7 separate regions of the Homo sapiens genome follow, and all the other regions are linked to region 2. Evidence: promoter capture Hi-C in human tissues and cell types (Jung and others, 2019). All regions are on one chromosome and are shown on one strand. Each heading gives the region's core, a stretch centred on a gene start or on the middle of the fragment in contact. The rest is flanking DNA. Distances are from core to core; before and after follow the strand shown.

The links. Contacts are between HindIII fragments. The study calls those that stand out against the background at their distance.
Region 1: a fragment that was not itself captured here is called in contact with the fragment with the promoter of CEP19 in region 2 in 2 of the 25 tissues and cell types used here (IMR-90 fibroblasts and dorsolateral prefrontal cortex).
Region 3: a contact is called between a fragment that was not itself captured here and the fragment with the promoter of CEP19 in region 2, in 1 of the 25 tissues and cell types used here (lymphoblastoid cells).
Region 4: a contact is called between a fragment that was not itself captured here and the fragment with the promoter of CEP19 in region 2, in 1 of the 25 tissues and cell types used here (spleen).
Region 5: a contact is called between a fragment that was not itself captured here and the fragment with the promoter of CEP19 in region 2, in 2 of the 25 tissues and cell types used here (dorsolateral prefrontal cortex and lymphoblastoid cells).
Region 6: a fragment that was not itself captured here is called in contact with the fragment with the promoter of CEP19 in region 2 in 1 of the 25 tissues and cell types used here (lymphoblastoid cells).
Region 7: a contact is called between a fragment that was not itself captured here and the fragment with the promoter of CEP19 in region 2, in 1 of the 25 tissues and cell types used here (liver).

The regions. Positions count from the first base shown.
Region 1 is chr3:196,926,731-196,930,505 of GRCh38, forward strand. It overlaps SENP5 (SUMO specific peptidase 5), which reads left to right. Exons shown (of 10, transcript NM_152699.5): 8 at 1,066-1,149; 9 at 2,903-2,953. Among named protein-coding and RNA genes, the nearest start is that of NCBP2-AS1, 11 kb to the right of the region's middle. The HindIII fragment of the contact is 3,553 bases long and covers 1-3,251 here.
Region 2 is chr3:196,709,892-196,713,582 of GRCh38, forward strand. It overlaps CEP19 (centrosomal protein 19), which reads right to left and starts at 2,359. Exons shown (of 3, transcript NM_032898.5): 1 at 2,038-2,359. PIGX (phosphatidylinositol glycan anchor biosynthesis class X) reads left to right here and starts at 2,486. Exons shown (of 6, transcript NM_017861.4): 1 at 2,486-2,753. The coding sequence starts at 2,642. RefSeq lists silencers at 2,109-2,421, 2,256-2,885. The HindIII fragment of the contact is 13,108 bases long and covers 1-3,691 here.
Region 3 is chr3:196,525,294-196,528,817 of GRCh38, forward strand. It overlaps the pseudogene NAA50P2. Among named protein-coding and RNA genes, the nearest start is that of SMCO1, 12 kb to the left of the region's middle. RefSeq lists an enhancer at 2,625-2,694 and a silencer at 3,465-3,524. The HindIII fragment of the contact is 4,673 bases long and covers 1-3,524 here.
Region 4 is chr3:196,577,599-196,580,898 of GRCh38, forward strand. FBXO45 (F-box protein 45) reads left to right here. Exons shown (of 3, transcript NM_001105573.2): 2 at 1-211. Among named protein-coding and RNA genes, the nearest start is that of FBXO45, 11 kb to the left of the region's middle. The HindIII fragment of the contact is 3,487 bases long and covers 266-3,300 here.
Region 5 is chr3:196,947,926-196,951,474 of GRCh38, forward strand. PIGZ (phosphatidylinositol glycan anchor biosynthesis class Z (Gwada blood group)) reads right to left here. Exons shown (of 3, transcript NM_025163.4): 3 at 1-760. Among named protein-coding and RNA genes, the nearest start is that of NCBP2AS2, 7.0 kb to the left of the region's middle. RefSeq lists an enhancer at 159-906 and a silencer at 3,433-3,549. The HindIII fragment of the contact is 5,138 bases long and covers 1-3,549 here.
Region 6 is chr3:196,548,023-196,551,639 of GRCh38, forward strand. No RefSeq gene overlaps it. Among named protein-coding and RNA genes, the nearest start is that of WDR53, 19 kb to the right of the region's middle. The HindIII fragment of the contact is 5,845 bases long and covers 1-3,617 here.
Region 7 is chr3:196,879,483-196,883,232 of GRCh38, forward strand. All of the region lies in intron 1 of SENP5 (SUMO specific peptidase 5), which reads left to right. Among named protein-coding and RNA genes, the nearest start is that of SENP5, 13 kb to the left of the region's middle. The HindIII fragment of the contact is 5,535 bases long and covers 1-3,750 here.

The sequences.
Region 1 (3,775 bases), core at 225-2,724, 220 kb after region 2:
TGGGTTCAAGCGATTCTCATGTCTCAGCCTCTGGAGTAGCTGGGATTACAGGTGTGCACCACCACACCTGGCTAATTTTTGTATTTTTAGTAGAAATGGGGTTTCACCATGTTGGTCAGGCTGATCTTGAACTCCTGACCTCACCTCATGTGATCCACCTGCCTCAGCCACCCAAAGTGCTGGGATTACAGGTGTGAGCCACCGCGTCTGGCCCTGGTCCACTTTTGTTGGGGGGTGGGGTGGGTTATTCACATAACCTCTGACTTCACTCTTGATGTGGAGAGAGACGCACAGAGGTTGAGAGCACTGGGGACATTTTGAAACTCCAGCAGGCTTCATCTTGGTAGATAGTTCAACAGTGGACTTGAGCATATTTAGTATTCAGAAGGAATTTTAGTATTACTTTCCAGAAGCTGAATGTTAACCTTTTCTGCAGCCCTCAAAAATAAGGAGTGTATCAGAATATCTAAGGCTGGAATATTTTTCATTTAGTTTTAGTTATTAATGATGTCTGCCATGGGTTCCTTTCCTCTGTTGAGCATGGGCAATGATGAAGACTTTCTTTTTGACTTGCCAGTATGTAAGTTTCAAATGCAGCAAGCTGACTTACTGCTGGGAAGGGCTGGCTAACCATCTCATAAAACGTTCTGATTACACAAATGCCAGCGTCCACAGTCTTGATGCATACCTTGAATACAGAAGGTCTGACTCCCCCTTAACAATATGAAATGAAGAGTCTGAAATAAAGTCCCGGCTTTAGCCGGGAGCGGTGGTGTACACCTATAGTCCCAGCTACTTGGAAGGCTGAGGTAGGAGGATCTCTGAAGCCTAGGAGTTCAAGGCTGCAGTGAGCTATGATCACGCCATTGTACTCCAGCCTGGGTGACAGAGCAAGATCCTCTCTTTAAAAAAAAAAAAAAAAAAAATTGTTCCAGCTTCTTAATGCATATTCTGCCCAGTTATGGGGCCACAGCCTCCTCCTTTCCTTCTGTCTGCTATGGGCATGTTCCATTTTTCACCAACTGATGGAACACAGCATCTGTGTTGTGGTTTCTTTTTAACCAGAATATAAGAAAGTATTTGCTGACTGAAGCCAGAGAAAAAAATAGACCTGAATTTCTTCAGGGTTGGCAGACTGCTGTTACGAAGGTAAGTATGTGATAACAATGAAACCCAGGCATGTCCAGGGGATGGAATTATCTAAGGGTGGGTGCCTTTAAGAGCATTTGAAGACTAGTGACAGAGATACCAAGGAGAGCCTGGAGGCTCCAGGGAGGCAGCTGAGAATGAACTTCAGTTGACTATTCATCATCGCTGCTCAGTTGCCCAGTGCTTCCCGGGAGCAAATCACTTCAGTCATTTCCTCCCTGAGGAAGTTGCTAATGATGTGTTTGCTCTTCTGGGGAAAAAAAAAATCTTTTTTGGGTGGCACTTGCCTCTTGCATCATGGCTCTTATTTCCAGATGACCCATATAGACCCAGAGAAATGCTGAAATGACTATTTGGATCCACTGAGGGGGAGAAAGTGCATTGAGCTACTTGGCAGGCATGTGGGGAAGATAGTAGCCCAAGCGCTTCAGTCCCACCACTGTCTGGATGCAGCACCATGCTTGGCCCATGACATTCAAACTGTGGGGCAGAGTGCCCAGGCACAGCCGCTCATTCCTGTCGTAAATACCAGTGTCTTCATTGATGGTGGGCTGTGTTGTTTCCAGTGTTTTTGTGTATTGGATCTCATTTGATCCTTATAACCTGTGAGGTAGGCAGGTCATTTAGGGATAAGCATCGTCTTTATTTTGTAAATGAGAAAACTGAAGCCCAGGTGTGATTTTCCCCAAAGGACATCAAAACTATTGATACAGAGTCAGGTCCTTGAACACAGGTCTGTCTGGATCATTGACAGGATGTTATAGGCAGGATCTTGAAACAAACCTTTAACCCAAACCCAAAGAGACAAGATTTATTAGTTCACCCTTGAACCGAACCAAATGCTAAATTTTAAAATTAAGCTTAAGTTTTGTGTTTTGAATAACCTAGTATACCAGTTCAAACCAGAACTAGTAAATTTCCTGAATTTACCCAACTAAAAAATCTGGGTATTCTAAATTTAGTCAGGATCTTCTGTATTACCGCTTTGAGCAGAATACAGTAACCAGTTCTTTTAAAAACATACTGTTGGCCGGGCACAGTGGCTCACACCTGTAATCCCAGCACTTTGGGAGGCAAAGGTGCGTGGATTGCGTGAGTCTAGGAGTTCAAGACCAGCCTGGGCAACATGGTGAGACCTCATCTCTACAAATAATAAAATTAGCCAGGCGTAGTCCCAGCTACTTGGGATGCTGAGGTGGGAGGATTGCTTGAACTCAGGAGACTGAGATCGTGCCACTGCACTCCAGCCTGGGCGACAGAGTGAGACCCTGTCGCGAAAAACCCAAAACAAAAACCATACTGTTTACCTTCACGATTTCTTTCAAAGAATAGGACAGGGTCGTGTGATGTGAGATCAGAAGTGAAGACTGCTCAGCGGAGTTGTCGCCATCCTAGCATCCAGAGGCTGGGCCTTTGTTCTCCCAGGCACAGTTCCATTTTGACTCCACTGTCAATGAATTGATAGCAGAGCTCAGTATCCAAATGCATGTTTTAAAACAGGTTTTTACATTTGATTTCCCATTTCTCATATTTAGGTAAAACATTGTCCTATAAATTGGGGTTGCCACCTGATAGCTCTTTTTATGTGGCCAGGTGCCTCCATAAAATTAGATGCTTGAGATATCAGATATACCAGCTGTCCTGGAGAGAGAAAAGTTTCCTATCTTTTGCGCATTTTTCCATAAAGGAGTTTTTCTTATCTGAAGAGAAGTAATGGATCTTGTTTTAATGACTATTTTGTTTTTCCCTTCAGTGTATTCCACAACAGAAAAACGACAGTGACTGTGGAGTCTTTGTGCTCCAGGTAAAGAAACACTTGCTTTTCGGAACTTACAATGTGTGAATTGAGTCTGTTGGGTTGAGAGGGGAGAGATGGCAGTTCCTGTATGTGTATATGATGCTAGGTACGAGCAACGGAGTACTTTCCCTCCCCTTTATTGCTGAGGAGCAGTAGTTTCTGCATGTTCAGATGTTATCATTAGGAAGAACCACCTTCCAGGGATCAAGAGTGAAGTGTGGGTGTCATCCATGTCTCACTGGAGGTTATTAGTAAGCCACATTGGAGACTGACTTGAATTTGTCCATATCATAACCATTGGCATTTGCATAAAAAAAAAAAAAAAAAAACATTGGCAAGCAATCTGCAGGTCTTTGACACAGTGATTAGATTTTAAATAAGGTCCACGTTGAGAAACTGCCATCTTGTGCTGTAGATCTCCTTAGAGATCGAAAAGGGCTATGGAAAAAAATTCAGTTATACATATATTTATGTTGGAAATTACAGAATATGATGCATGAATTTAGAGATTTGCAAAGATCTTGGAAGACCGGTTCGTTTGTATACCTCATGCATGTTTGGGGTTTTATAAACAAATTCAAGTTCCCATTAAGGGCCATGATGGGTCTAGCTGCACTCCAGCAGGTTGCACTTTGGGAGGAATTGAGGCCTTTTCATCAGTTGCTGCTTTTCACAGTATTGGGTCAGGAGGGAGAGGAGATCCCAAGCCATGCACTAGCTTGGTCAGTCACCTATAATTTGGGTAAATGCTTAAAACAGTGTATTTTTACAGTAGTTTAAACAGACATGAAAATGCTGCCTTAGATCGGGGTCCCAAACCCCTGGGCC
Region 2 (3,691 bases), core at 1,109-3,608:
CAGTTCTGCTGGAGAATCACTATTAGGAACATACTTTTTATTAAATACTTAGCAGTGATTATACACGTCATTGTAGAATACTGGGGGCAAAGGAGAGGGGAAACCTATAGAAAATAATCACCCTTGATTGTGTCCAGTCTTTTTTCTAGGCATATAGTTTATAGTATGTTTCATACATACCTTATCATACAAGCTATTTCCTGACGTTCAAATTTAACAACATATATTATTATTTTGTCATCAAATGTTTTACTACAATGTAACATTTTATATGACTGCTAAATGTTTTATTTTATGGATGTACTATAATCATATTATTCACCACTTATTGTTGGGCATGAGAATTTTTACTCTTAGAAAATTAATCACATATAAGCCCAGGCACAGTGGCTCACCCCAGCCAGCACTTTGGGAGGTCAAGGTGGGCAGATCATTTGAGGTCAGGAGTTCGAGACCAGCCTGGCCAACATGGTGAAAACCACGTCTGTACTAAAAATACAAAAATTAGCTGGACATAGTGGCAGGTGCCTGTAATCCCAGCTACTCGAGAGGCCAAGGCAGGAGAATCACTTGAACCTGGGAGGCGGAGGTTGCAGTGAGCTGAGATGGTACCACTGCACTCCAGCATGGGTGACAAGAGCAAGACTCCATCTCAAAAAGATGGAGGCAGGTGTGGTGGCTCAGGCCTGTAATCCCAACACTTTGGGAGGCCAAGGAGAGGAGATACCTTGAGGCCAGGAGTTTGAGACCAGCCTGGGCAACACAGCGAGACCATGCATGTCTCTACAAAAAATTTAAAAATTGGCCAGGCATGGCAGCATGCACCTGTAGTCCCAGCCACACCAAAGGCCAAGGTGGGAGAATCGCCTGAACCCAGGAGTTTGGGGCTGCAGTGAGTTGAGATGGTGCCACTGCACAACAGCCTCTCCAAAGCATGATACGCCTATTCTTAAAAAAAAAAAAAAAAAAAAAAAAAACTACTTTAAAAAATTACTGTGCTCTACCTCTAATCTGATGCAATGAGCTCACACCATTTCTCCTTCTTTTCCTTCTCTTTTCTTGCTTTTTTTTTTTTTTTAACGAATACTATTCCCAATTCACCTAACTAAAATTTGATGTTAGTAAACTACAACCTACGGGGCACATATAAACTCCACACACTGAAGCAATGGCTGTACTCGTCAAAGATGTATGCAGTTGGTACTCAAATAATGTAGTTTTTTTTTTACTAGACTCTTTTTAAAATTTAACTTTAATTTTTGCTAAAGTAATGTTTGTATTTGGAATATAAAATAATTCTATGAGGCTTATAACAACAAACTATCGTCCTTGGCCCTACTCCTCTTCATAGGGAGCCAGACTGAATTTTAAAAGGCATATCTTCCAAAATTTCTCTCTCCATTTCTTAAGAAACATGCTTATACTACCATTTTCAGTTTTTTTTTTTCTTTTGAAACAGAGTCTCCCTCTGTCGCCTAGGCTGCAGTGCAGTGGCGTGATCTCCCCTCGCTGCAACCTCCGCCTCCTGGGTTCAAGCGATTCTCGTGCCTCAGCCTCCCGAGTAGCTGGAATTACAGGTGCCTACCACCATGCCCAGCTAATCTTTGTATTTTCAGTAGAGACGGGGTTTCGCCATCTTGGCCAGGCTGGTCTCGAACTCCTGACCTCAGGTGATTCGCCCAAAGTGCTGGGGCTATAGGCGTGAGCCACCTGCCCGGCTATTTTCAGTTTTGGATAGTATGTTTTGACATACACTCTGTTTCCTCTTTGAGACACCCGCTCTAGAGCCCTCTATTCCACTCCAAGCCGCCTGGATGCTCTCTTGGCCTGCTTACAGATTCCACTCTGTTTAGGAAGAAGGACGGCACGTTTATCCAATTATTCTTCCTGGACACGAATACTCCTCTCCCCAGAGATCAGTAACTGCCCACAATCTTGTTAGGAAGCCCCACAGCACCTAAGGGTACGAATGTCCCCAAAGAGTAGACGATTCTCTCCCTACTCACGTCTCCACTAGTGCAAGGCTGGCTTTCTTACCCTTAGAGGAATACAGAAATGACATCGTCTGCAGGCCAACGTCTAAACAACCAGGAGTGGGTTTTTCCACCCAACCGCAGTGCACGCAAAGCCCCTAAGCCGACTGTGAGACCGGGCGGAGCCTGGCGCTGCAGGAAGAGGCGACAGCCACAGCCCTACTGACGAGCCCGAGGGGTGAACTCCCCGGCGGGAGGCCCGAACCCTCAAACACCGGGAAGCGGAGGTGGGGGCCGGCTGGGGGACCGGTCCACCGGCTCCCACCTCGGCGTACAGGGATTCCAGGTCCCGGCGAGCGCTGGCCTAGCGGTTTCCACAGCGACAGGCCGGGCGCGCGTCCCCGCGCGTGCGCAGCTCCTCGCCCGCCCCCGGGTGGGCGGAGCAAGGAACAGCTGGGCGGGGACGACCGCCCCACGCCGCGCGGGAACCCTTGGGGGCCGGGGCTGCAGGCAGCTGGGAACCGCGGGCGCTAGGCGCGCGCACCCAGCACTCGGTCCCAGCCGATAAATCTGGGGCAGCGCGCGGTAGGAGCTGCGGGCGGCCAGGCCCCTTCCTGCGTCCGCACCTGGCCCCGCGCGCCCCTCTCGGGCGTCCGGCTTCCGGCGTCCTGGCGGCTCGGGTGGCGGCGGTTCGGGCGGCCGCCTGGCTGCTCCTCGGGGCGGCGACCGGGCTCACGCGCGGGCCCGCCGCGGCCTTCACCGCCGCGCGCTCTGACGCCGGTAAGGGGGGCGGGGCTTGGGGGGCCAGAGCGTGGGAGCGGTCCCGGCTCCCGGGCCTCTCGGCGGGTTGCGGGGATGTGGGGACCCGGCGCGGGACCTAGATCAGTAGGGCGAGCCGGAGGAGGTCAGACACTAGAGCCGTGTGCCCTCCTTCCCTCCCGTGCGCTTTGCTCTGCGGCGGATCCCGGGTCTCCGGGAGAGTCGGGCTCGGGCCCTGCGGTTCCCAGGCTGGACTGGCCGCCCTGTTACTAAAGTTCTGAGAAGGAAAGTCAGCCGTCAAGCGTCTTGGGATGCTCTTGAGCTGCACGAAGCTTCTGATCACCAAGGGGCCAGGCAAGGCCTTAGCGCCCTGTGAGGCCTGAGAATCCCCAAACTGAATGTAGGACTCCGTGGCAAACTGCTAGTTGTTCGTGCAAGTAGTAGTTGGCAAACTGCTTGTACTACTGAGACGGGCAAGTGCGGGAATAATTACAATAAAGGGTAAGGTTTGATGGGAGGAAAGCACAAACCCTACAAGTTTCTCCATCTGTAAAATGAGGATGTTTCTGTCATCCTTGGTATCATTTAGATCCGTTTAGTATCTGTCAATCAGTGCAGTTCTGCTTGTGTGTTTACATATTGGGTTTTCAAGTTTATCTAAACAAAGGATTATGAGGCCAAGAAGATTTTTTTTTTGAGATGGAGTCTCACTCTGTTGCCAGGCTGGAGTGCAATGGCGCGATCTCGGCTCACTGCAACCTCCGCCTTTCCCAAGTTCAAGCAATTCTTCTGCTTCAGCCTCCCAAGTAGCTGGGATTATTACAGGTGCCCGCCACCATGCCCAGCTAATTTTTTGTATTTTTAGTAGAGACGGGGTTTCGCCGTATTGGTCAAGCTGGTCTTGAACTCCTGACCTCAGGTGGTCCACCCTCCTCAGCCTCCCAAAGTGCCAGGATTAC
Region 3 (3,524 bases), core at 273-2,772, 190 kb before region 2:
ACAAGGAATCCATAAGGCAGGATATGCAGTAGTCACTCTAAATGACGTCATTGAAAGTGTGTCTCTCCGTCCAAGCACTCAATTAGCTGAGCTGATAGCTCTTACTCGAGCACTAGAATTAAGCAAAGGAAAGGTAGCTAACATTTGCACTGACTCCAAGTATGCTTTCTTGGTTCTTCATGCTCATGCTGCCATCTAAGCTTTCTTTTAAATATTTTCAGTATGTCCAAGAGAAAACACCTGCTTCCGTTTATTTAGCGGTAATAACCTATATGGACTTAAAAATTTTTTTTGTACAGATGAGGTTTCACCATGTTGCCCAGGCTGGTCTTCAGACTCCCAAAGTGCTGCGATTACAGGCGTGAGCCACTGCACCCGGCCAACATTTTCTTTTTTAGAAACAGGGTCTCACTCTGTTGCCCAGGCTGGAGTGCAGTGGCATGATCACGGCATACTGCAGCCTCGACCTCGTGGGCTCAAGTGATTCTCCTTCCTTAGCCTCCCAAGTAGCTGGGACTACAGGTATGCACCACCACGCCCAGCTAATTTTTTTTTGTTTTAATTTTTATGTACAGACAGGCATCTTACTATGTTGTCCTGGCTGGTCTCCAATTCCTGGGCTCAAGTGATTCACCCGCCTTGGCCTCCCAAAGTGTTGGGATTACAGACATGAGCCACCACACCTGGGTTATTGTTGGATTTACTGAAGAAAAGGGGCAGGAGAAAAAAGTTAAATTACGACAAATCTCTAGGTCAATTAGAAGCCATATCTCTGGGATATTTTAAAAAATCAGTCTTACCGCTTCCGACTCTAAAAGTTAATGCCATTAGTAACAACAGCAGGAAAAATAAACCTGATAAAAACCAGCCCATTCATTTTAGCAAAAAAGCAGTTTAACTCAAAATACTTAGACCAAAGTATAACACTACGTACCCAAGGTGCCCCACCCACCAGCAAGAAGAGAAGAAATAATTGCTTTAAAAATCAAAATATGCGGCCAGGCGCCGTGGCTCACCCCTGTAGTCTCAGCACTTTGGGAGGCCAAGGCAGGCAGATTACCTGAGGTCGGGAGTTCAAGACTAGCCTGGCCAACATGGTGAAACCCTCTTTCTACTAAAAACACAAAAATTAGCCGGGCGTGGTGGCGCGTGCCTGTAGTCCCAGCTACCTCGGGAGGCTAAGGCAGGAGAATCGCCTAAACTCAGGAGACGGAGCTTGCAATGAGCCGAGATCCGCCACTGCACTCCAGCCTGGGCGACAGAGCAAGACTCTGTCTCCAAAATAATAATAATAATAATAAATATGCTCAGCATTTCTTCCAGAGATAGCAACGGTGCTACTCCTGAGAGTGCTCGGAAGGACTAAAGCTGGAGTGAAGATAATGTCTAGGGATTGGTATCCCACAAAGGCTTTCAAAGCCCAAGGTACCACAAGCACACTAAACTCGTCTATGAATTAGAAAACAAGATATCACTGCTGCTTCTTTCTGTCTTTTGAAATGTACAATATTTTGTAGGCTCTGCCCTTCGATGTGAAAGCAGGACTAAGAAAAAACAACTAAGAGGGCCAGGCTCGGTGGCTCACGCCTGTAATCCCAGCACTTTGGGAGGCCGAGGCAGGCGGATCATGAAGTCAAGAAATCAAGACCATCTGGCCAACATGGTGAAACCCTGTCTCTACTAAGAAAATACCAAAATTAGCCGGACGTGGTGGCAGGCGCCTGTAGTCCCAGCTACTCAGGAGGCTGAAGCAGGAGAATCATTTGAACCCAGAAGGCGGAGGTTGCAGTGAGCTGAGATCTCGCCATTGCATTCCAGCCTGGGCAACAGTGTGAGACTCCGTCTCCAAAAAAAAAAAATAGAGACAGAGTCTTGCTATGTTGCCCAGGCTGGTCTCCAACTCCAAGCTAAGAAATGTGAAATTATTTGACACCTAAATTTTTAGAACCATTTATCTTAACTGTGAAATTAAACAGATCTACCTTCTCCTGCCTTCAGTCAAACCACCTCACAAAAATAAGAGAACTGAAACAATCCAAACATGATCTTTTTTTTTTTTTTTTTTTTTTTTTTTTTTTTGAGATGGAGTCTTGCTCTGTGGCCCAGGCTGGAGTGCAGTGGCACGATCTCGGCTCACTGCAACCTCTGCCTCCCAGGTTCAAGCGATTCCCCTGTCTCAGGCTCCTGAGTAGCTTGGGACTACAGGCACACGCCACCACGCCTGGCTAATTTTTGTATTTTTAGTACAGATGGGGTTTCACCATGTTGGCCAGGCTCGTCTGGAACTCCTGACCTCAAGTGATCCACCCACCTTGGCCTCCCAAAGTGCTGGGATTACAGGAGTGAGTCACTGCGCCTGGCCCAAACATGATCATTTTTAAAGTCCTTGAAAGTATTAAAACTTTGAAAAGAAAAGAAAGAAGGAAAAACAAAAACATGGCAGTGCAGGAAAGCTTTACAAGAAAGAGGGGGTGAAAATCAATGGGCTTGTCTTTTTTTGTCAACAAGCAAGTGCAAGAAGGTTCATTTTGTGACTTGTTCAGTTGTGTTTTGCATATCTCCATTCTGATCGGAAGGGACTTTGAGGTTTTTCTGCAACTCCTGAGCATCTGCAGGCTCCATCCTCTTATCCTTTATCTGTCTTTGTCTCAGTCATCTCAAAGCCAAACTTCTGTAGAAGTCAATTGCTGACTCATTGCTGATCTGGACAAACAGATGTTGTCAAAAGTGCCATCTTGGCTGGGCAGTGGCTTATGCCTGTAATCCCAGCACTTTGGGAGGCTGAAGTAGGCAGATCCCTAGAGTACAGGAGTTCGAAACTAGCCTGGCCAATATGGTGAAACCCCGTCTCTACTAAAAACACAAAAATTAGCCAGGCGCGGTGGCTCCCATCTGTAACCCCAGCACTTTGGGAGGCCAAGGCGGGCGGATGTCCTGAGGTCGGGAGTTCAAGACCTGCCAGGCCAGCATGGTGAAACCCCGTCTCTACTAAAAATACAAAAATTAGCCGGGCGTGGTAGCACATGCCTCTAATCTCAGCTACTCGGGAGGCTGAGGCAGGAGAATCACTTGAACCCGGGAGGTGGACGTTGCAGTGAGCCGAGATCGCGCCACTGTACTCCAGCCTGGGTGACAGAGCGAGACTCCATCTCAAAAAAAAAAAAAAAAAAAAAAAAAAAAAAAAAAAAAAAAAGAAAGAGAGAGAGAGAGAGAAAGAAGGAGAAGAAAAAGGTGCCATCTTCTCCACAGATGTTTGACACGATTTAACATCTGAGTTGCTATTCCTGGCCTTGGGTAAGGTGCCGGACACCCTGGTGTGATGATGTGTCTGCGAATGATCCACCGTCCCGCCCTCGCCCCAGCTTTGCTAGCTCAGCCTCCAGCACGCCCTTGTAGGACGTGTCCCTGCAGCCGACTGAAAAGGTGGCCTGGATGGGTGTCTTCAAGTACGGAGAACTGCGGTGTCGCGCCTCCGGGCCCCATCCGGCTCCCAGCATCTTCTCCCGCTGCGGAGGCCGCATTTC
Region 4 (3,300 bases), core at 759-3,258, 130 kb before region 2:
TGCATGGGAAGTGTGGTGGGAGGGCCCTCTGGGCACTGTGGCAGTGATTGGAATTGCCACAAAACGGGCCCCCATGCAGTGCCAAGGTTATGTGGCATTGCTGGGCAGTGATGACCAGAGCTGGGGCTGGAATCTGGTGGACAATAATCTACTACATAATGGAGAAGTCAATGGCAGTTTTCCACAGTGCAACAACGCACCAAAATATCAGGTGAGAAACTGGGGTTTTTCTCAAGTATGGGCCTTTGTCAAATCACGCCTTAATTTGTTTTAAATTTACAAATTTTTATATAGCAGTTTTTGTCTTTTTGGTAATTTTTATTTTTATTATTTTTTTATTTTTTCAGATACCCAGACTTCAAGGAGATTTTTTTTTTTTAATGTTAGGGGGTTATAGTTAATTTTGTTGGGTGTTATATTTTGATTTTGGCTATGCAGAAAAATATTCTTTTTTTTTTTTTAGACAGAATCTCACTCCGTTGCCCAGGCTAGAGTGCAGTGGCGCCAACTCGGCTCACTGCAACCTGCACCTCCCAGGTTCAAGCAATTCTCTGCCTCAGCCTCAGTAGTTGGGATTACAGGCGCCCACCACCATGCCTGGCTAATTTTTGTATTTTTAGTAGAGACAGGGTTTCACCATCTTGGCCAGGCTGGTCTTGAACTCCTAACCTCGTGATTCACCTGCCTTGGCCTCCCAAAGTGCTGGGATTACAGGCGTGAGCCACCATGCCCAGCCTCAAGGAGATTTTTTGACCATTTTTAAATAAATGTATAAATGATCTATCTCAATATTTGTTTCCTAATACAACTTTAAGCAGCCTATTTTTGCTCCAGATCAGGGGTTGGCAAACTTTTTGTAAGGGCCACGTAGTAAATCTTTAAGTCTTTGCAGTCCATATGGTCTCTGTCACAACTTTTTTTTTTTAATGTCATTTTCAAGGTAAGGATCTATCACGAGTTTCAACTCTATTTATAGTACAAAAGCAGTCATCGATAATACGTAAATGAACGAACATGGCTGTATTCCATAGACCTTATTTATGGGCTGCAGGACAGATTTGGTCCAGGGGCTGTAGTTTGCCAGTTCATGCTCTATATCAAGCTTGTCCAACCCACAGCCTGCATGCAGCCCAAGATGGCTTTGATTGTGACCCAATGCAAATTCATAAACTTTCTTAAAACATTATGAGATTTTTTTGCAATTTTTTTTTTTAAAGCTGATTAGCTATCTTTAGTGTTAGTGTATTTTATGTGTGGCCCAAAACAATTCTTCCAGTGTGGCCCAGGGAAGCCAAAGGATTGAATACCCCTGCTCTAGATGGTCATCTTTCCTGTATCACGGCACATCCAAATCTTTTTCTAGGCTCCTTACCCCAGTAAATACAGCTCTGTGCATGCACATGTTTGTGGATTCAAAGCCCCTGGAGGCATCAGTGAGTTCTGCAGAGACAGGCAAATTCAGGCAAACTGCTGTATTTTTTATTCTTTTCATCTTAGGCTTAAGGCATACTCATTTGACTCAAGTTAAAATTATAGTTCCTATTTGTAAAAGCCGTATTTATTACTACAGACTTAACAGGGTGTAATATACAATAATCTGATAAGAAATTGGAAGTCTTTAAAGAACTATAGATTGCATATTTCAGAGCCACCTGTGGCGTGAAAGTTCCAGCCTCAGTAATGACCTCAAGTCAGGCATACTAAAGCAGAAGAACCAAAAATACATCCCATTTTCTGAGGTATAAAAGCTGGAAGGATTTTTTTCATGGAATGTTTCCTCACTATCCTTTTAGGCTCTGCGGATACTATAAGGAGAAGGGTGTGTAGACTTTATCACTAAAAACGAAGTCCTGTCGCCACCCTTGTAATGATTTTGTAAGTGAAAGTCCTTAAGTCTGTTTTTCAGAGAACATGCTCTATGGTTTTAGTCCTTTTAAATTTATTGAGATTTGTTTTATTCTAATATGTGGTCTGTCTGGATGAGTGTCCCATGTGTGCTTGAAAAAATGTATATTCTTTTGCTGAATGGAATATTCTGTAAATGAGAATTAGGCAAAGTCGATTGATAATGTTCAAGTCTTACATAGTGTTACTGATTTTTTTCTACCCTTCTATTATTTACTAAGAGGAGTATTGAAATCTCCATCTATCCTTGCTAATTTGTCTTTCTTCTTTTAGTTCTCTCAGTGTTTGCTTCATGTATTTTGGAGCTCTGTTACTACTGGTGCATATACATTTCTAATTGTTTTATCTCCCTGCCTGATTTATTCTTTTATTATGAAATGACTTCCTTTGACTCTAGTAATCCTCTGTCAATCTGTCTTTGTATTTAAAGTGGAGCTCCTACACAGCACATAGTTGGATCTTGATTTTTATCTAACCCAGTCTCTGTCTCTGACTTTTTTTTTTTGAGACGGAGTTTTACTCTTGTTGCCCAGGCTGGAAGTGCAATGGCGCAATCTCGGCTCACCGCAACCTCCACCTCCCAGGTTCAAGTGATTCTCCTGCCTCAGCCTCCCGAGTAGCTGGGATTAGAGGCATGCGCCTCTAAACCACGCCCGGCTAATTTAATTTTATATTTTTTTAGTAGAGAAGGGGTTTCTTTTTTTTTTTTTTCTCCTTTTGAGACAGAGTTTCACTCTTGTTGCCCATGCTGGAGTGCAATGGCATGATCTCAGCTCACCGCAACCTCTGCCTCCCGGGTCCCGGTTCAAGCAGTTCTCCTACCTCAGCCTCTTGGGTAGCTGGGATTACAGGCATGCGCCACCACACCCAGCTAATTTTTGTATTTTTAGTAGAGACGGGGTTTCACCACGTTGGCCAGGCTGGTCTCGAACTCCTGACCTCGTGATCCGCCTGCCTCAGCCTCCCAAAGTGCTCGGATTACAGGCATGAGCCACCATGCCTGGCGAGACGGGGTTTCTCCATGTTGGTCAGGCTGGTCTCGAACTCCCAACCTCAAGTGATCCACCTGCCTTGGCCTCCCAGTTGCTGGGATTACAGGTTGTGAGCCACTGCGCCCAGCTTCGGTCTCTGACTTTTAAGTGTTTAGTTCATTTACCTTTAATGTAAGTGTTGGATTGCTTGATGTTGTCCTTATCTCTGCCTCTAAAACTATGTTCTTGTTTTTTCCCCCAACCTTGTTTCTCTCTAATCTTTGCATTAGATAATTTCTTTTCCTTTTTTTTTTTGAGATAGGGTCTCGCTCTGACACCTCGGCTGGAGTGGTGCAGTGGTGCAGTGGCGTGATGATCTTGGCTCACTGAAACCTCTGCCTCCCAGGCTCAAGTGATCATCCCA
Region 5 (3,549 bases), core at 1-2,500, 240 kb after region 2:
AGGAAGCCGTTGACTGCCAGGTGAGTGAGCCGCGCGTGCGTGCCATGTCTCGCCAGGTTTTGGGGATTCAGGTTGTAGTGCAAGAAGTTGACAGGTGTCAGGACAAGGTTCCTGGATGTAGCGGGGCTGGAGAAATACCAGCTGTCCGTGGCCACAAACACCGCTGCTGTGAGGGCTGCCCCAGGGAGCAGCACCAGGGCCTCCCGGGTCAGAGACTTCAAACCAGGGTTTGTGGCTCCACGAGTGCCCCAGAGGTAGAGGGGGACCACAGCAAAGGCCAGAAAGGTGGGCCGGTTGAAGAAGCCAGCAGCCACAATGCCTCCAAGAAGCCAGCTGCGCCACCGTGGACCCGGCGCCGGCTCCTTGCGTGTAGGGCCCCACGTTACATGGGAGGATACCAGCACCAGCAGCCACGTGAAGAGGAGTCCCTCAATGGTGTTGGAGAAGGTCCTTGTGTAGAAGACCAGGGTGACGTAGGAACCAGACAGCAGGGCCAGGGCGTTCCAGCGATCCGCCCCCATCGGCGGGGCCAGGTGGTACACGGCCCCGTCCAGAGCAAAGGAAAGGGCAGTGAGGAGGAGTCGAGGCCCCACCAGCAGCGCATAGCCGCTCACCAGGCCAGGCCACGGCCCCAGCTCCTCCCAGAGCCTGAGCAGCCAGAAGGTGGAACCAGAGATCAGCAGGGGGAAGAGCACCGAGCGGCAGGAGCTGCTGGGGTAAAACTCCCAGGGCCGCGCGGCCTGAACGCCCAGGATGTCCTCTGCAGAGAGAGGCAGAGGTGAGCCAGTACCAAGCTCAGGGATGTAGTGGGCAAAATTCTAGGAGGGCACCCCACATTTCCCACCCCTTGGTGTGTGTGCCCTGCGTAATCCCTGGGACTGTGCACGGGCTGGATTTTTCCTCCCTTCCCTCCCTCTCTCCCTCCTTCTTTCCCTTCCTTCCCTTCCTTCCTTCCCTTCCTTCCCCTTCCTTCCCTTCCCCTCCCCTCCCTTCCCTTCCTTCCCTTTACTTCCCTTCCTTCCCCTCCCCTCCCTTCCTTCCCTTCCCCTCCCCTCCCTTCCCTTCCTTCCCTTTACTTCTCTTTCCCTCCCCTCCCTTCCCTTCCTTCCCTTCCTTCCTTCCCTTCCCTTCCTTCCCCTTCCTTCGCTTCGTTCATCTCTGTCACCCAGGCTGGAGTGCGGTGGCGAGATCACAGCTCTCGCTATGTTACTCAGGCTGATCTCAGACTCCTGGCTTCAATCCATTCTTCCAGCACAGCCTCCTAATGTGCTGGGATTACAGGTTTGAGCCACTGCACCTGGCCCGCAGGATGGACTGTATCCTGAGATTAGGTTACTTATACAGGAGCACTGACTGTAAAATAGGGAGACTATGCAGTGGGCCGGACCTAATCACAACAATCTTTTAATAACAGAGTTTTCACCAGCTGGACGCAGAAGTGGCAGTGAGATTCAAAGCATGAGAAGGATTTGACATGCCACTGCTGGCTTCAAGACGGAAGAGGCCATTGGCTAGGAATGTGGGTGGCCTCTGAAAGCTAAGAGCAAGGAAGCCGCACCATAGGTTCCACAGCTGAAATGAACTAGATTCTGCTAGAATTAGAGAGCTTCCAGACAAGAACTCAGCCCAGTCCATACGCTGATGTCCACCTTGTGAGCAGAGAGCCCGTGCTGCCCTTCTGATGGACAGAACTGTGAACTCACAGACGGGTGCAGTTTGAGCTGCTCGTAGGATTTTGAGGATTTGTCAGGAGCAGCAGAAGCAAGTGCAGGGGAGCTCAGAGTGCAGAGGGCAGGAGGGGCTTCCCCGGGAGATGAGGTGGCAGTGTGTCCTGGGAAGAGTGTGTGGGAGGCGGGCAGGTGGGGGAGGCCTAACCTCTTCTCAGGGTTCCAAGATCTCAAAAGCCAAGGACAAGCACCCTTGTCCTTACACCTGTCAAGCTTGACAGAGCCGCATCTCTGATAATGATTGTTATCAGGAGATGGGGGGAGAGAAGAGGGGTAGGTGATGAGCCATCAGGGTTATGTCAGAGGTGATTTATGTTAGTTTTGTTTACAATACTTAAATTTTTTTTTTTTTAGACAGAGTCTCACTCTGTCACGCATGCTAGAGTCCAGTGGCGCTATCTTGGCTCACTGCAACCTCTGCCTCTGGGGTTCAAGTGATTCTCCTGCCTCAGCCTCCAAGTAGCTGGGACTACAGGCGCCCGCCACTGTGCCTGGCTGATTTTTGTATTTTCAGTAGAGATGGGGTTTCGCCATGTTGGCCAGGATGGTCTTGAACCCCTGACCTCAGGTGATCCACCCGCCTCAGCCTCCTGAAGTGCTGGGATTACAGGCGTGAGCCACTGCACCCTGCCTATGATACTTAAATTTTTTGTAAGAAGAATATATCCAAGTAGTACTTACATAATTTAAGAAATACTTGCTGCCTGTTCTGTAACCCTGTGCCCCAACGTCCCAGAGCTCTGAGGGGTGGGGGCGCGGGAGCAGCTCCACTCCAAGCCTCATTGTTCACAGCGTCTCTTGCTTGATCACCTGCTGGCTGTTTCGAGCTGATCATACAGCCTGCGGATCATTCGGGCTCTTTGATTCTGCTACTTATTTCTCCAGACTTTCAGCTGTTTTATCTATCTATGTTAGATGTTGAAAGGGAAGCAAAATCCAGGATCAAATCTATCTGGCTGCTTTTCTGGTTAAAAAACGACGTGAGGGAAAGAAGATGAGCCTTTTAACTTAAAAAACAAATTCACCTGTTGAGCCCTGTGGCAAAGAAAGCTGATGCCTCCAAAATATCTATTCCCTCCTCCTTCATTAGACTTTTTTTTTTCTTTTTTTGAGATGGAGTCTCGCTCTGTTGCCCAGGCTGAAGTGCAGTGGCACAATCTTGGCTCACTACAACCTCCACCTCCTGGGTTCAAGCAATTCTCCTGCCTCAGCCTCCCAAGTAGCTGGGATTACAGGCGCCTGCCACCATGCCAGGCTAATGTTTTGTATTTTTAATAGAGATGGGGTTTCATCATTTTGGCCAGACTGGTCTCAAACTCCTGACCTCAGGTGATCCACCTGCCTCAGCCTCCCAGAGTGCTGGGATTACAGGCGTGAGCCACTGCATCTGACTCCTTTGACTCTTTTTCTGGGCACTTGGTCAGATATAAAGACTATAATTTTTAGCTTCCTTTGCAGCTAGGTGTGGCCTCATGATACATTCTGCCCAGTGTGATAGAAATGAGCAAAAAGCATGCGCCCTTCAAAATATGACCTTAAAGAGAGAAGTAATGCCCTTCTCCTTTGTTGGCTGGAAAGACTGCCTGTAGGCTTGATGGCTGGAGCTCAAGCAGCCGTCTTGAACTATGAGGATGACCCCACATGCCCATCACATCTGAAAGGCCTCAAGGCCTTTGGGCGAGACGGTATGGGCCAGGCAACCAGCCTCATGATGTGTCCCACACCGCCTAACAGATGAGTGAGTGTCCCAGGTCTGGGTTCCCTTACCCCTCTCTTGAATCTACAGAAGAGAAGTTTCATGATCTCAGATCACAGCCCTATG
Region 6 (3,617 bases), core at 575-3,074, 160 kb before region 2:
CCGGCTGGGCATGGTTGCTCATGCCTGTAAGAGCACTTGGGGAGGCTGTTATATTCTTGTTTCCACTAGTAATATAAGGGGGAGTTTCCCTGTACAAGCTCTCTCTTTGCCTGCTGCCATCCATTTAAGATGTGACTTGCTCCTCCTTGCCTTCCACCATGATTGTGAGGCCTCCCAGCCATGTGGAACTGTACATCTATTAAATCCTTTTTCCTGCATAAATTACCAAGTCTTGGGTATGTCTTTATCAGCAGCATGAAAACGAACTAATACAGTAAATTGGTACCAGTAGAGTGGTATTGAAAAGATACCTGAAAATGTGGAAGCGACTTTGGAACTGGGTAACAGGCAGAGGTTGGAACAGTTTGGGGAGCTCAGAAGAAGACAGGAAAATGTGGAAAAGTTTGGAATTCCCTAGAGACTTGTTGAATGGCTTTGACCAACATGCTTATAATGATATGGACAATGAAATCGAGGCTGAAGTGGTTGCAGATGAAGATGAGGAACTCGTTGGGAACTGGAGTAAAGGTGACTCTTGCTATGTTTTAGCAAAGAGAATGGTGGCATTTTGCCCCTGCCTTAGAGCTCTGTGGAACTTTGAACTTGAGAGAGATGATTTAGGGTATCTGGCAGAAGAAATTTCTAAGCAGCAAAGCATTAAAGAGGTAATTTTGGTGCTGTTAAAAGCATTCAGGTTTTTTTTTTTTTTTTTGATATGGAGTCTTGCTCTGTCGCCCAGGCTGGAGTGCAGTGGTGCGATCTCAGCTCACTGCAAGCTCCACCTCCAGGGTTCATGCCATTCTCCTGCCTCAGCCTCCTGAGTAGCTGGGACTACAGGCGCCCACCACCATGCCCAGCTAATTTTGTTTTTGTATTTTTAGTAGAGACAGGGTTTCACCGTGTTAGCCAGGATGGTCTCCATCTCCTGATCTTGTGATCTGCCTGCCCCGGCCTCCCAAAGTGCTGGGTTTACAGGTATGAGCCACCACACCCAGCCAGCATTCAGTTTTAAAAGGGAAACAGAATAAAAATTTGGAAAATTTGCAGCCTGACAATGCAATAGAAAAGAAAATCCCATTTTCTGAGGAGAAATTCAAGCCAGCTGCAGAAACTTGCATAAGTTAAGAAGAAGCCAAATGTTAATCCACAAGACAATGGGGAAAATGTCTCCAGGGCATGTCAGAAGTCTTCATGGCAACCCTTCCCATCACAGGTCCTAAGGCCTAGGAGGAAAAAATGGTTTAGTGGGTCAGGCCCAGGGTCCCCCTGCTGTGTGCAGCCTAGGGACTTGGTGCCGTGTCACAGCCAATCCAGCCATGGCTAAAAGGGGCCAACATAGAGCTTGGGCTGTGGCTTCAGAGAGTGCAAGCCCAAAGCCTTGGCAGCTTCCACATAGTGTTGAGCCTGTGAGTGCACAGAAGTCAAGAACTGGGGTTTGGGAAACTCTGCCTAGATTTCAGAAGATGTATGGACACACCTGGATGTCCAGGCAGAAGTTTGCTGCAGGGGTGGGGCCCTCATGGAGAACCTCTGCTAGGGCAGTGTGGAAGGGAAATGTGGGGTAGGAGTCTCCACACAGAGTCCCTACAGGGGCACCTTCAGGTGGAGCTGTGAGAAGAGGGCCACCATCCTCCAGACCCCAAAATGGTAGCTTCACTGATAGCTTGCATCATTCACCTGGAAAAGCCACAGATACTCAACACCAGCCTGTGAAAGCAGCTGGGAGGCTGCACCCTGCAAAGCACACAGGGGCAGAGCTGCCCAAGACCATGGGAACCCACCTCTTGCACCAGTGTGACCTGGATGTGAGACAGAGAGTCAAAACAGATCACTCTGGAGTTTTAAGATTTGACTGCCCTGCTGGATTTTGGACTTGTATGGGGACTGTAGCCCCTTTGTTTTGGCCAATTTTTCCCATTTTGAACAGCTGTATTTACCCAATGCCTGTACCCCCATTGTATCTAGGAAGTAACTAACTTGCTTTTGATTTTACAGGCTTATAGAGGAAGGGACTTGCCTTGTCTCAGGTGAGACTTTGGACTGTGGATTTTTGAGTTAATGCTGAAATAAGACTTTGGGGGACTGTTGGGAAAGCATGATTGGGTTTGAAATGTGAGGACATGAGATTTGGGAGGGGCTGAGGGTGAAATGATATGGTTTGGCTGTGTCTTTACCCAAATTTCATCTTGAATTCCCACATGTTGTAGGAGGGACCCAGTGGGAGGTAATTAAATCATGGGGACAGGTCTTTCCCATGCTGTTTTCATGATAGTGAATTAAGTCTCACAAGATCTGATGGTTCTATAAGGGGGAGTTTCCCTGCACAAGCTCTCTCTCGGGTTGCCTGCCGCCATCCATGTAAGACATGACTTGCTCCTCCTTGCCTTGCACCATGATTGTAAGGCCTCCCTAACCACGTGGATCTGTAAGTCCATTAAACTTTTTTCCTGTATAAATTATCCAGACTCAGGTATGTCTTTATCAGCAGCATGAAAACAGACTAATACAAAGTGTCAAGGTACCTCACTTTCAAATAGTTCAGCAAACAAGACACACACACATACATACATACAAAACATATGTGCTGTGCATTACTGTTTTTCACTAATTCTTTCCTTGTAAATAGGAAAATTGTGGTCAAGGGAGAGCTGGTCATAGGCTGATGGCACCAGAACTACACGATTCTGCCAGAATGTGACTGATTAATCCTGAAAAGTATTTCTGCCCTTGGCAAGGAGTGGTTGGGTGGCCCTGTATCAGCCTCAAGTTTGTGCATCCAGGACCACAAACTGATTGTAATTTGGAGAGGGTACATGAAATGTGAAATAATTTGGTAGGCCAGGGTGGGCGGATCACCTGAGGTCAAGAGTTCAAGACCAGCCTGGCCAACATGGTGAAACCCCATCTCTATTAAAAATACAAAAATTGGCCAGGCGCAGTGGCTCATACCTGCAATCCCAACACTTTGGGAGTCCGAGGTGGGTGGATTACTTGAGGTCAGGAGTTCAAGACAAGCCTGGCCAACATGGTGAAACCCCATCTCTACTAAAAATACAAATTAGCTGGGCATGGTGGCGGGCACCTGTAATCCCAGCTACTCGGGAGGCTGAGGCACGAGAACTGCTTGAACCTGGGAGATGGAGGTTGCAGTGAGCCGAGATGGTGCCACTGCATTCCAGCCTGGGTGACAGAGTACAACTCCATCTTGAAAACAACAACAAAAAAAATTAGCCAGGTGTAGTGGCAAACCCATGTAATCCCAGCTATTCAAGAGGCTGAGGCACGAGAATTGCTTGAACCCAGGAGGCAGAGTTTGCAGTGAGCCAAGATCATGCCATTGCCCTCCAGCCTGGGTGACAGTAAGACTGTCTCAAAAAAAAAAAAAAAAAAGAAAAAAGAAATGTGAAATGAGCATGTTTAGGTGTCTGTGAGTTCAGCATTGGTTAGGAGAATGTGTAGCCCTGATAGCTGGCGTTAAAAATAATCTGAAGAGGCTGGGTGTGGAGGCTCATGCCTGTAATCCCATCCCTTTGAGAGGCCGAGGTGGGGATCACCTGAGGTCAGGAGTTTGAGACCAGCCTGGGCAACATGGCAAAACTGAGTCTCTACCAAAAATA
Region 7 (3,750 bases), core at 906-3,405, 170 kb after region 2:
ATCAGGATCACATTCTTGGAGCCTTTTGACTGACTTTTGACCGCTCCCTTCTGGATTGGTGGCCCTCCAGGCTTAAGGCACATTGTCATTCTGCATCTATTTTTACTGTTATCTTTAGTATTCTTTTTGCCTGACTCTTGTTTTTGGATCTCATTTCCTGCATCCTGTGTATTCTTGACTTACTCCCATATTTGCCAGAGTACCTTCTCCTGTGACTCTCTGAGAAGGATGCATGGGAGGTAAATATTTTGATAACTTACATCTCTGTAAACCTTTTTTGTTAGTTGTTATGTTAGTTTCAGTCTGTCATTTTGTGGTACTTTCTGGGAGATTGCTCAAAATTTTAAATGTTTTAATGTTTTACTTTTAACTTCGAAATAACTTCAAATTTACCGAAAAAAATTGCAAAATATTACAGTTTTTCTATATGCTTCACCTAGCTTTGCTCCGAAGTTTTGTTTCAGTTTTTTTTGTTTGTTTGAAGACATGGTCTCACTCTGTTGCCCAGGCTGGAGTGCAGTGGCGTGATCTCGGCTCACTGCAACTTCTGCCTCCTGGGTTCAAGTGATTCTCCTGCCTCAGCCTCCCGAGTAGCTGGGATTACAGGTTCATGCCACCGTGCCTGGCTAATTTTTGTATTTTTGGTAGAGACAGGGTTTCTCTATGTTGGCCAGGCTGGTCTTGAACTCCTGACCTTAGTTGATCCACCCACCTCAGCCTCCCAAAGTGCTGGGATCACAGGCATGAGCCACTGTGCCCAACCTTACTTCAGTTTTTTTAAGGAGACAGAGTCTTGCTATGTTGCCCAGGCTGATCTTGAACTCTTGGGCTCAAACAATCCTTCTGTCTCCGCCTCCCACGTAGGTGGGTCTACAGGTGTGCACCACTGTACCTGGCCTCTCCAATGTTATAGAACTGCAGCACATTGTCAAGGCCAGGCAATTAACGTTGAGAGAATACTGCTAACTGATCTGCACACCTTATTCCAATTTTGTCAGTTGTCACATGACTTTTCTTTTTCTGAACTGAGACTCAATCCAGGATTATACCTTGTTTAATTGTCGTCTCCTTAATCTCAGTCTTTCATTCTAGGACAGTCTGTCTTTGTCTTTCAGGACTTTGACTGATGTGATTGAAGAGTATTAGCCAGTTATTCTTTTTTTTTTTTTTTTTTTTGAGACGGAGTTTTGCTTTTGTACCCCAGGCTGGAGTGCAATGGCGTGATTTCGGCTCACTGTCACCTGCGCCTCCTGGGTTCAAGCAATTCTCCTGCCTCAGTCTCCCGAGTAGCTGGATTACAGGTATGTGCCACCGTGCCCGGCTAATGTTTGTATTTTTAGTAGAGACAGGGTTTCACCGTGTTGGCCAGACTGGTCTCGAACTCGCGACCTCAGGTGATCTGCCCACCTCGGCCTCCCAAAGTGTTGGGATTACAGGCATGAGCCACCGCGCCTGGCCCTTTTCCTTTTTTATTTTTTTTTTGAGATAGGACATCACTCTGTTGCCCAGGCTAGAGTGCCATGGTGCAATCTCAGCTCACTGCAACCACAAACTCCTGGGCTCAGTTGATCCACCCACCTCAGCCTTCTGAGTAGCTGGGACCACAGGCACATGCCACCACACTTGGCTAATTTTTATATTTCTTTGTAGAGATGGGGTTTCATCATGTTGCCCAGAGTGGTCTCAAACTCCTGGGCTCAAACAGTCCACCCATCTCAGCCTCCCAAAGTGTGAGATTGTAGGCTGAGCCACAGTTCCCTGCTGGTTGTTTTTAATATTTTGCTATTATAAACAATGCTGCAATGAATAGCCTTGTACATGTGTATATTTGTATTATTGTAGGCATGTCTTCAGGTAAATTCCTTAAAGTGGGGTTGCTGGATTAAAAGGTAAATACTTTTGTAGTTATTAAATGTTACCAGATTACCCTCCAAAAAGATTGGATCAATTTGTAGTCCTCCTAACAAAGTGTGGAAAGGCCCTTCTTCCCCACCAAGAGAATGTGTTATAATTTTTGCCAATTGTCTTATAAATGAATTTGGACATCTTTCTTAAGCTTAAGGAACATTTAAAAAGCTTTATTTGTAAATTGTCTCCTTATGTATTTTTCCTATTTTCCATTAGGCTTTTTTTCAGTTATCTCTTAATTTAAGAGGTCTATATATTAGGGATATTAGGCCTTTATGATACATGTTGCAAATATTTTTTTCTAATTTATCAGCTGTCTTTTCATTTTGTTCATTTATTATTTTTTTTAACTTCCAAGCTTAATTGAGTTTTTAATTTCTGCTATTATTTTTAATTTTCAAGACCCCTTTCTTGTTTTTGGCCATTCCTTTAGAAAAAGAATAACACCCTGTTCTTTTTTTTCAATGGATGTAATATTTGCTTTTGCTTCTTTGAGATAGTATTAGTTTTTTTTTTTTTTTTTTGAGACAGTCTTGGTCTGTCACCCAGGCTGGAGTGCAGTGGCTCAATTTTGGCTCACTGCAGCCTTCAGAACTCCCAGGTTCAAGCAATTCTCGTGTCTCAGCCTCCCGAGTAGCTGGGATTACAAGCACGTGCCACCACACCTGGCTAATTTTTTTGTATTTTTAGTAGGGTTGGGGTTTTACCTTGTTGGCCAGGTTGGTCTCGAACTCCTGACCTCAAGTGATCCGCCTGTCTTGGCCTCCCAAAGTGCTGGGATTATAGGTGTGAGCCACCACACTCAGCCCCCTCTTTTTTTTTAATTGTGGTAAAATATACATAACATAAAATTTACTATTTTGACCATTTTTAGGTGTACAGTTCATTGGCATTAAAGTACATTCGCATTGCTGTGCAACCATCACCACCATTCATCTCCAGGAACCTTTTTATCTTCCCAAACTGAAATTCTGTACCCATTAAGCAATAACTCCCTTTTCTCCCCCTCCCTGTTGGTTTATAAAAGTTGACTTTATATAGTTTTTGCTTTTATCTGTTTGTTTTGGTCTGTTTTTATCCCTAGACATCTGGTGATTCTTGGTCATCCTTTATTTTTTATTTTATTTTTTTGAGACAGAGTCTTGCTCTGTCGCCCAGGCTAGACTGCAGTGGTGCGATCTCAGTTCACCACAACCTCTGCCTCCCAGGTTCAGGCAATTCCTGTGCCTCAGCCTCCCAAGTAGCTGGGATTACAGGCATGCACCACCATGCCCAGCTAATTTTTGTATTTTTAATAGAGATGGGGTTTTGCCATGTTGGCCAGGCTGGTCTCGAACTCCTGACCTCAAGTGCTCTGCCCACCTTGGCCTCCCGAAGTATTGGGATTACAGGCGTGAGCCACCATGCCCAGCCCGTCTAGTTGTTTTTAATAATGACCACTAAGAAACTGCTTGGGAACTCTTAACACATGGTGGAATGTGTCAACTTTGGGGTACACTGTGGGCCATTTTGTGGGGTAATATCTGTATCTTTATGGATTTTTTTTTTTTTTTTGGTGGACTAGTTATAGTCTCCAGAAAAGAATCTTCAGTCTGCTTGTATGGGTGAGACAGACTGCTAGCATTCTGGGAGATGAGTGGCAAAGTGTGTTCGGAGTCTCATATGCAGTATATAATTCCATCTTCAAATTATGCCTGGAGTCCCTGTGTCTGCAGACTTTCCATTTTACTCTTTTTTGCATTTTACATTTCACTATTTTATCTAAAGGATAAACTTCCAATCTTGGGTGGGGGAGGGTCACTTACCTGCCATGTGGAGTTAAGTAGGGATCTGGAGTCTAAC